Linked DNA regions of Homo sapiens: region 1 is linked to region 2. Evidence: promoter capture Hi-C in 16 types of primary human blood cells and fetal thymus (Javierre and others, 2016). All regions are on one chromosome and are shown on one strand. Each heading gives the region's core, a stretch centred on a gene start or on the middle of the fragment in contact. The rest is flanking DNA. Distances are from core to core; before and after follow the strand shown.

What was found. The method cuts DNA at HindIII sites, captures the fragments that hold promoters and counts their contacts. A CHiCAGO score of 5 or more calls a contact.
Region 1: a contact is called between a fragment that was not itself captured here and the fragment with the promoter of WASHC5-AS1 in region 2, in 3 of 17 cell types (erythroblasts, M2 macrophages and megakaryocytes). The highest score is 8.9, in erythroblasts.

The regions. Positions count from the first base shown.
Region 1 is chr8:124,601,865-124,606,817 of GRCh38, reverse strand. The region is part of intron 3 of MTSS1 (MTSS I-BAR domain containing 1); the gene reads left to right. It overlaps LOC124902016 (a long non-coding RNA gene), which reads right to left and starts at 81. Exons shown (of 2, transcript XR_007061088.1): 1 at 1-81. RefSeq lists an enhancer at 1,393-1,462. The HindIII fragment of the contact is 1,755 bases long and covers 2,479-4,233 here.
Region 2 is chr8:125,039,161-125,043,789 of GRCh38, reverse strand. It overlaps WASHC5-AS1 (WASHC5 antisense RNA 1), which reads right to left and starts at 3,106. Exons shown (of 2, transcript NR_170219.1): 1 at 3,011-3,106. WASHC5 (WASH complex subunit 5) reads left to right here. Exons shown (of 29, transcript NM_014846.4): 24 at 3,892-3,995. The HindIII fragment of the contact is 6,314 bases long and covers 1,675-4,629 here.

The DNA of each region.
Region 1 (4,953 bases), core at 2,107-4,606, 440 kb after region 2:
CATGTCCACCCTGAACTCATGGCCTTGGATGCAGACCGGCCAACTGTACACAGTTGAGCGAGGAAGTGGCGACAGCACGGTTTGAATCTGGCTGATAAAACAGATGTTCGGGGGAAGGGCTCTTATTTTCTCCCAGTTATAGGATCGGGGGTGGGGGAAGAAAACCTAATTCCCTATCTGCCAAATGTTTCTGTTGGTAATGTCCTGGCAACAGTGAGATGCCCCCAAGAATGGAGTGGTTGAAAGTTCTAGCTATCGACTCAGCCCTGGATGTAAATTCTGAATTCTGTGTGACCTTGGGCAAGTTACTTAACCTCTCTGAGTACCCTTGGCCTCATCTGTAAAATGAGGATAATGATACCTACTTTTGGCGGGGTGCAGGGGCTTGTGCCTGTAGTCCCGGCACTTTGGGAGGCTGAGGCAGGTGGATCACTTGAGATCATGAGTTTGAGACCAGCCTGGCCAACACGGTGAAACCCCGTCTCTACTAAAAATACAAAAATTAGCTGGGCGTAGTTGTGGGTGCCTGTAATCCCAGAATCGCTTGAACCCAGGAGGCAGAGGTTGCAGTGAGCCAAGATCATGCCATTGTACTCCAGCCTGGGCCACAAGAGTGAAACTCTATCTCAAAAAAAAAAAAAAAAAACAAAAAACCAAACACAGAAAACACAAAAATTAGCTGGGCATGGTGGCACATGCCTGTAGTCCCAGCTACTTGGGAGGCTGAGGCACAAGAATCTCTTGAACCTGGGAAGCAGAAGTTGCAGTGAGCCAAGATCACACCACTGCACTCCCAGCACTCTAGCCTGGACAACAGAGTGAGACTCTGTCTCAAAAAAAAAAAAAAAAAAAAATGAGATACCTACTTTATAATGGTACCTATAAGAGGAGTATAATGAGATTTTAAAAAAATGAATACAACATTCCTGCAAGGGTTTGTCATGTTGCAAGCACTCAGTAAATGGGAGCTATTCCTAATAATATGAAAAACTGCAAGATTACCTCCTAAGAGATGATAAAGTCGCTATATTCTGGCATAGTTTGGGGATGTACAGAAACCTCTTAAAGGAATAAAGTAGCTCTTAGGCCAGTGACACATGCATGAAACCTGATTTTAGGTGCTAGCGGGTTCAAGGATAGATGTTTATCACAGGGAGTTCTGATCTCCAACGGGAGCCCAGCGCGAGGGCAGGGAGGGAGGCAGCGCGAGGGCAGGGAGGGAGGCAGCGAGAGGGCAGGGAGGGAGGCAGCGAGAGGGCAGGGAGGGAGGCAGTGCGAGGGCTGTCTCCGCAGAGTCCCAGCTTAGAGCCATCCCTTTGTCAGGGATAGATGTAGCAGGCTCTTACTCTGATCCCTAGAACACTAACTCCCTGATTCTGATTCCATATTCATCTGGCCACCTTCTGAATTACCTGACAACCCAAGAAGGCTGACTGGGAGATAATCCCTGATCCAGATACTGTGAGCATCTTATCTACCCGACAGTTAAATTTTGTGAACTAAGAAAATGACATGTGGTTTCTGCATCAGGCCACAGCTGCTTCGCTGGCAGGAGCTGGCGTCATCGAGTCGCTCAGACCTGGCTTCAGCAGGAGCATCTTTCTGTGCCCATGCAGCAGAGGCAGACCATGGCAATGGGGGGTTCATGGTGGCAGATGTCGGGGAGACAGCTGGCATTTCCCAGGTGACACCCCCACAGGGTGTTGCAACCAGACACCATTCCATCCAAAACGTAGACAGGGAAGCCTCCCTGTCGGAATGTGTTTGCTGTTAATATGGTTTTCCCATAGTGTGAGCGTGTCCGTGTTTTTGTGTTTCCATATTACCATTCTCGCTTTGCTTTTAAAACAGCAACAAAGAGGAATATTGGTCTTTGTGGCTGCCAGTACGGTGCATGCCAGAATCTCATGCTTGCTGGTCTGAAGCCGCCAGATGGTGGTAGGATTGTGTGTGGGTTTTGTTTCCTCTGCTTTTTGAAAAGTCGTGAAGTGGGAGAGACTGAGAAGTGGGAGATTGGCTGGAAGATTATCATCTGATAACAGTTTGCAGTGTCTTCCACCCTGTGTGTGGGCACAATGGTGTCTTCCAAAAATGTGATGCTGACCCTACCTAGCATTTGCTGAATGTGCAGTATTAGCTGTCCCGTAAACACCAGCTGGGTTATTCATTACATACTCAGCTGTATACAGTAGCTGAATAAAACAGGTTTTTTAAAAAAAAAACCACACAGGAAATTTTCTGCATGTTTTTCTCTTCCTTGAAGATTAAAATGAGTTGTTAGGATTGCCATTGTAGCAAAAGGGAAGTTGTACTTCCTTTTTTGGGGGCTTTATGGGTTTATTTTTGAATATCTTTTCAAGTTCTTTTACCTTTGTCCTAAGGAACCTATTTTCACAGCTTAAAGGACTAATGTTTCTCTTCTCTTAGTTTCCTTGAAATCAGATTGTGTGTTTGTTGTAAGAACATTTAGATCAAGCTTGTCCAACCCATGGCCTGTTGGCCCCATGCGCCCCAGGATGGTTTTGAATGTGGCCCAACACAAATTCATCAACTTTCTTGAAACGGTTTTTTTTTGCTTTTATTTTATTTTATTTTATTTATTTTTAAGATGGAGTCTCACTCTGTTGCCCAGACTGGAGTGCAATGGCTTGATTTCGGCTCACTGCAACCTCCGCCTCCCGGGTCCAAGCGATTTTCCTGCCTCAGCTTCCTGAGTAGCTGGGATTACAGGCGCCTGCCTCCACGCCCAGCTAATTTTTTGTATTTTTAGTAGAGATGGGGTTTCACCACGCTGGCCAGGCTGGTCTTGAACTCTCAACCTTAGGTGAGCCACCATGCCCAGCCTGTTTGTTTTTTTAGCTCATCAGCTATCATTAGTGTATTTTAAGTGTGGCCCAAGACAATTCTTCCATGTGGCCCAGAGAAGCCAAAAGATTGGACACACCCGACTGAGATGATCTTGTAAATGGCACAGGCAAAAAAGTTTGTGTTTTGCAGCCATTTTCAAGGCTAACATAAGGTATCAGGACGCTGCTCAGTGACTTATGTGTGACCAGGGTCTCTAATGATTGGAGAGGGGATATTTGTCTCGTGTGAACAGAGTCTGATCTCTGTGAAGACTTGTGATACCAGAAACTGGTTGCTTCTCCATTTCCTCCCTCTCTGCCTCCCCTCCCTGTAGTTAAACAAATGTAGGGCATCAAATGATGCCACTTTCTTCTGGTTGTCCATCTCTCCATGCCCAAGGGTAAAAATAAAATGCTGATGAAGCCAGAGGAACACAGTTTGTTCATTTGAAGTTCTTAATATCCTGAGTGCTGACTTTGACCTTTAATGAAAATGATGGTCCTTTTGGCAGGGGCCAGCTGCCTCATAAATGTGCAGCTTAAAGAACAAGGATGAGTTTCCCTGAACAAGAGAAACAGCAGCAAGCGTGGAAGTCCTGCGTGCATCAGGAGCACTCTGCTAATTAAAGGCAAGAGTGGGATGCCTGGCCAGGCACTGTGGCTCACACCTGTAATCCCAGCACTTTGGGAGGCTGAGGCGGGCAGATCACTTGAGGTCAGGAGTTCGAGACCAGCCTAGCCAACATGGTGAAACCTCATCTCTACTAAAAATACAAAAATTAGCCAGGAGTGGTGGCGCACGCCTGTAATCCCAGATACTTGGGAGGCTGAGGCAGGAGAATTGCTTGAACCCGGGAGGTGTAGGTTGTGGTGAGCTGAGATGGTGCCACTGCACTCCAGCCTGGGCAACAGAGCAAGACTACATCTCAGAAAGAACAAAAAGAGTGGGATGCCCAACAGCAAGGAACTGCTGGTTTGTTGCTTTGTGAGTTTTCTAAGGCACCTTCCAGCTCTAAGGTTACCATGACGATCCGTCATTTCCAATTACAGGAGATGCCCACTCTATGGGGGCAGGCGGCTGTCTCTTTACTTCGTAGCACAATAATTAGACCAAGGTAACATTTCCTAAAAATTTGTTGACTACAGGAACACTGTCCTTTCTCCACTCCAGCATCTTGGTTGCCAGGAAGAGGGGTCATCCAGTCTAACCTGGAGATCACCTAAGAGATCCACCTTATAGACCCCCAGGCTGATGTACCCACCTCTAGCCGAGGTCTGGCTAGCCCCTTGCCTGGAGCTTCCTTACTGATCAGTTATTTTGTTGGTCTGGGTTATAGTTGTCCACCTACTAGCCTTTTGGGTTTTGCCCCTTGGTCTAGATCAAGCTTGTTCAACCTGCAGGCCTCACATGGCTCAGGATGGCTTTGAATGCAGCCCAACACAAATTTGTGAGCTTTCTTAAACCATTATGAGGCCGGGCATGGTGGCTCACATCTGTAATCCTAGCACTTTGGGAGGTCGAGGTGGGGGAATCACTTGAGGCCAGGAGTTCAAGACTAGCCTGGCCAACATGGCGAAACCCCATCTCTACTAAAAATACAAAACTTAGCCAGGTGTAGTAGTGCACACTTGTAGCCCCAGCTGTTTGGGAGGCTGAGGTGGGAGGATTGCTTGCACCCAGGAGGCGGAGGTTGCAGTGAGCCGTGATCACACCACTGCACTCCAGCCTGGATGACAGAGTGAGACCGTGTCTCAAAAAAAAATTATATATATATATATATATGTATATATATGAGATTTATTTGTGATTTTTTTTTTTTAGTAGCTGTTGTTTGTGTTAGTGTATTTTATATGTGGCCCAAGACAATTCCTCTTCCACTGTGGCCCAGGGAAGCCAAAAGATTGGACACACCTGGTCGAAATCTTTGGGTAAAGCATTGTCTTAGCTAGGGCATCATGATTGAACTTTTCCAGGCCTAAGAATTGAGCTTCCTCTTCTCTTATTAGAATTCAGGTTCACACTCTGATGCCATTTGGAAACACTCTTACTTTCCTTTGAAGACTGTGTTCTGTCACTTCACCTTATAAAATAAAAAAATCCTGAAAC
Region 2 (4,629 bases), core at 1,857-4,356:
TACATTTTTAAATTTTTTATTTTCTTGTAACTTTGTTGCCCAAAAAAAGCTACTCTTCTTTCTTTTGTCATTAAATCAAAAATATTTTAATACTTCAGTTTATCATTTTAAAATTCATTTTGTTTATCTCCGTTTCTGGATCTGTTCTTGATTAGGCTTTTTAGGAGCCTAGCGTTTTCCTTTTGTTCAAGAAAACTGGCTCTTTGTAAAATGCCTTTTGGCTAGAGGTGCTTTTATATATGAAAATTGAACTTTTCCTTGCACAGTAATACTCCCTTTTTACATAACAAAGTTCATTTATACACACCTCATCTGCTCCAAGCTGCTGTTAGAACAGAACATTGTCTCTCTGCCCTCTTGTGTCTGCATAGATGTTAGGAAGCCAGGTTCTTTGGGGCATAAATTATCCTTATACTCTGCAGAAAGCAGTCTTACTTTGGAAATGAATAAGAAAGACGAAGAGATTAATTTGCTGGATGGAAGTCTAACTTATTTTAGAATCCAGCTGCCTAGTTTCCTGCCTTTACTCGGCAGTAGGAGCTCCCAGGGACCCCTGCATCTTCTGCGAGTCTTCTTTCATCATCTGATAATCTGAGATCATCACAGCCCATTCTTGCACACCCATTATACCCAGGGCATTGTCAGTTGCTGTGAAAGACAGAGTTAAATGAAACATGACCGGTCTCCTTAGCTAACTCACAATCTAGCAGGGAAGAGTAGACTTCCTGGTAGAAAACTGGTTTGTGGTCAAAAATATCACATACTGTAGAAAAGTCTAGAATTCTAGAATGCTAAGGGAATTTTGAAAAGTTCCATTCTCTGATTCCCAATTATATAAGTTTCTCATTGAGACAGCACTCATTGGTATCTTAGCCAAATTCACAATATATTTCCCATAATTTTGGTGAGTGGTTGTTGTTGTTGTTGTTGTTTGGATCATTAAACAGAACAGGTAAGGCAAGGAGCCCATGGCTCTGCTAGATATCCTCTCGTGATGTGGGTCTGCCTTCCCCTAGCCTCATGATTGTCAGATATTAAGCGCTTCCCAGGCCAAGTTTCTAATTGCTGGAAAACCCTTTAGGAGGAATAAAGAATCACCCGAGTTTGGACAGGTGTGAGTCCCAACTCTGTAGGAGGCGTTAGGGGGATTACAGGGATTCTTCCAAGAAACTGGAAGGTTTTCCCCTTGCTTACTGGAGGGTTCTCAGTCCAGTAGCTATTCCAACTATTGGTTATAGTTGCCAGTAATTCAGTAACAGCCACGTGACTGTGACCGAGTCAGTGATCTTTAAATAAAGCCCCAAAGGACAAATTTGTCTTTTTGTCTTGAATTAGGGTGCGTACAGTCACGGAGCCAGTGTTAATAATCTGGAACAACAATGGAAATGTTCTGTGCTATTCGATGATGACAGCAGCTCCTAGCCCTGTGTAGCTATTGAGCTCATGAAATGTGGGTTGTGGGACAGTGAAATGCAATTTTTAATTTTATTTCATATTAATTTAAATATAAATAGCCACACATCGCTAGGAGCTGCTGTACTCAATAGTGCAACTCTAGAAAAATCTTGGAGAAAGAGTGATAAGCCAGATATCTCCAAAGAGGCAAATGAGTAGGTAGAATAAGTTTCTCATCCATCCCAGGCTCCTTAGCCTCTTCAGCAGCTTATTAAAGCTTGAAGTGCGTGAGTACCAAAAATAGAAAATGTCACTAACAAAGATTCATTGTGCAGTAAACGAGAGCAAGTTATATTAAACTGACTTTATTTCTATTTCCAGTTCTAGATTGATATTTTCAAGAGGATCCTTGACACAGAGTATACTACACATAGAAAATTAAGCAAAGAATTATATGGGCCAGATACAGGGTTTCAGGGACATTTTTATGTGGCCTGAAAGAACCTACTATTTTCTTGGATTTGCTGCATTCTAATTTTTAAATAATGCTACTCTATAAATTCAAACACTTCCTATTTATAAATAGCATTTTTGGATTGACGTTTTTCACATAAATAGAGTAATAGTCTTGTATGAATAGTGGTCAAAAATAATACATCTGAGGTCATTTAATACTTTTGACCATTACAAGCTCCATTTAGCTAAGTAACTTTTGCTCATTCTTAGAGAAGGCCACCCTCCTTTTCTTTTTTTTTTGAGACAGTCTCACTCTGTCGCCTGGGCTGGAGTGCAGTGGCACAATCTTGGCTCACTGCAACCTCTACCTCCTGGGTTCAAGTGTTTCTCATACCTCAGCCTTCCAAGTATCTGGGATTACAGGTGTCCACCACCATACCCAGCTAATTTTTTTATTTTTAGTAGAAACAGAGTTTTACCATTTTGGCCAGGCTTGGTCTCGAACTCCTAGCCTCAAGCGATCAGCCTGCCTCGGCCTCCCAAAGTGCTGGGATTGCAGGCGTGAGCCCCTGTCTTTTCCTTAACTCTTCTCTGCCCCCAGCAACTCAGAGGAAATGCATTTATTTCCACCTTATTGCTGCTTGCATTATAATACTGTCTTCCCTCCTCTCCCCACCTCCCTCACTCCCCTTTGCCAGTCTTTTAGGAATACTTTGTCCGAGTAGAAAAGAAGACATTTATAGGCAGAAAAAGTTAGAGTGTGCTGTTGACCTTATGATGCAGACAACATTATGAGGGCAAACTGAACTCTCAAGCCTGACCCAAAGATCGCTTCCTATCATCCAACCATTGCAGATAATCTCCAAGTATCATTTATGCTCATAGCTACTTTTAAAGTACTGTAGTTAATACACCATCCTAGCATAACTCTATATCACAGATTTGTTCTTTGAATGGTTAATTATATTTCATTACAACTGGCTTCCACTGTTACCCTCTATGTTTTATTTTGTACATTCAAAAACGTTATTCTGAAATGGTGTCCATAGGCTTCACCAGATTCCCAAAGGGGTCCAAGGCTATATTAGTCAATTCTCACATAATAAAGACATACTCAAGACTGGGTAATTTATAAAGGAAAGAGGTTCGATTGACTCACAGTTCAGCATGGCTGTGGAGGCCTCAGGAAACTTACAACCATGGTGGAAGTGGAAGCAAACATGTCCTTCTTCACATGGCAACAGGAAAGAGAAATATAATCAAAAGGAGAAAAGCCTCTTATAAAACCATCAGATCTCGTGAGAACTCATCCACTATTACGAGAACAGTATGGAGGTAACCACCCCCATAATTCAATTACCTCCCACTGGGTCCCTCCCATGACACATGGGGATTATGGGAACTACAATTCAAGATGAAATTTGGGTGGGGGCACAGCCAAACCATATCAGACACACAAAAAAAATTAAGAACCCTGGATTAAGGGGCTATCATTGTTAAAATTTTCGTGAAAGATTTTATGTAGATTATTTTGTAATCCAGATAATTATAGAACCTATAATCCTGAGTGGCATGGACAGACTTAATATTCACCCAATTTGAGAATACTAGTGTGAAATGGCATTCCTAGAGCTTGAGAAAGTTCCATTTAGGATAAATAAAAGGAAGTAAGTAAGACTTCTCACAGCAGCTACTAAATTTGGAGCACTTATTCCAAAAGGTTAAAAATATAGCTTCAAAAAAGACATCTTTGATACATGAACAACTGAACATTAATAGATCACTTTGTGAATCATAGACTTTGGGGTATTTTTAGGTTGGGGTATGGGAATCCATCCAGACATTCCTTGAAGGGCCTCTGGTGCTTCATTAGATCCAGTGCTGGTCTTAGCCAAGAGATCAGTTCAGGAAATCCTTATTTTTTTTCCTGTAGAGTGATGTGAAGGCCCAGTGAAGAATTGTCATCTTTGTGTTTACCTCCTCACTGTCACTCTGAAATGCTTGAATGCACTACCTGTTCTTTCTCTTGCTTGTGCACAGGTTGGGCAGATGCAGATTCTGAGACAACAGATTGCCAATGAATTAAATTATTCTTGTCGGTTTGATTCTAAACATCTGGCAGCTGCTCTGGAGAATCTCAATAAGTAAGTGCCAGGGTTTGAAACAGCCATCCGTGGGCTTGGATTGTTTATTATCTACGCACCCCAGTTTCTTCAGTTCTTACTCTTTTAAGTTATTTTTGGGTGGAAGGTCTGAATTTACAGGCTTCCTTGCCACGGATAATCAAATCTGTCTTCGGAGCCTCTTTCCTCAGTATTGTCCCTCCGTTTATCTCTGTCTCTCACTCACTCTCTCTAATGGATTCGTGTATTCAGCAGACAGGTACTGATCACATGATTCAATACATGTCTGCTGAACAAATGAATTCATTAGAGAGAGCGAGTGAGAGACACACCAGACACTGCTAGATACTTGCACAGATTTTAGAAAGCAATTATTACCAAAATCCGCAACTGGCTTTTTACAGGGCTGATCACTCATCATCCAGAGGGCAGTTGGAAGTGTGTTGATTACCAAGAGTGGTTATGGAGGCCTGTCCTAGAGGGAACTCATATCCTCCGCCTCACCAGCAACCTGCTGTCATTTGAGGCTGCCTACTTACAGATAAATAATCTGTGCTTCTCACTCACCAAGTCAGTGCTTTTGACAAAGCAGGTATTAAGAACAGTTCAGTCAATACATGAAAATTTGAATGGTGAATGCATTTGATTGAGGTTG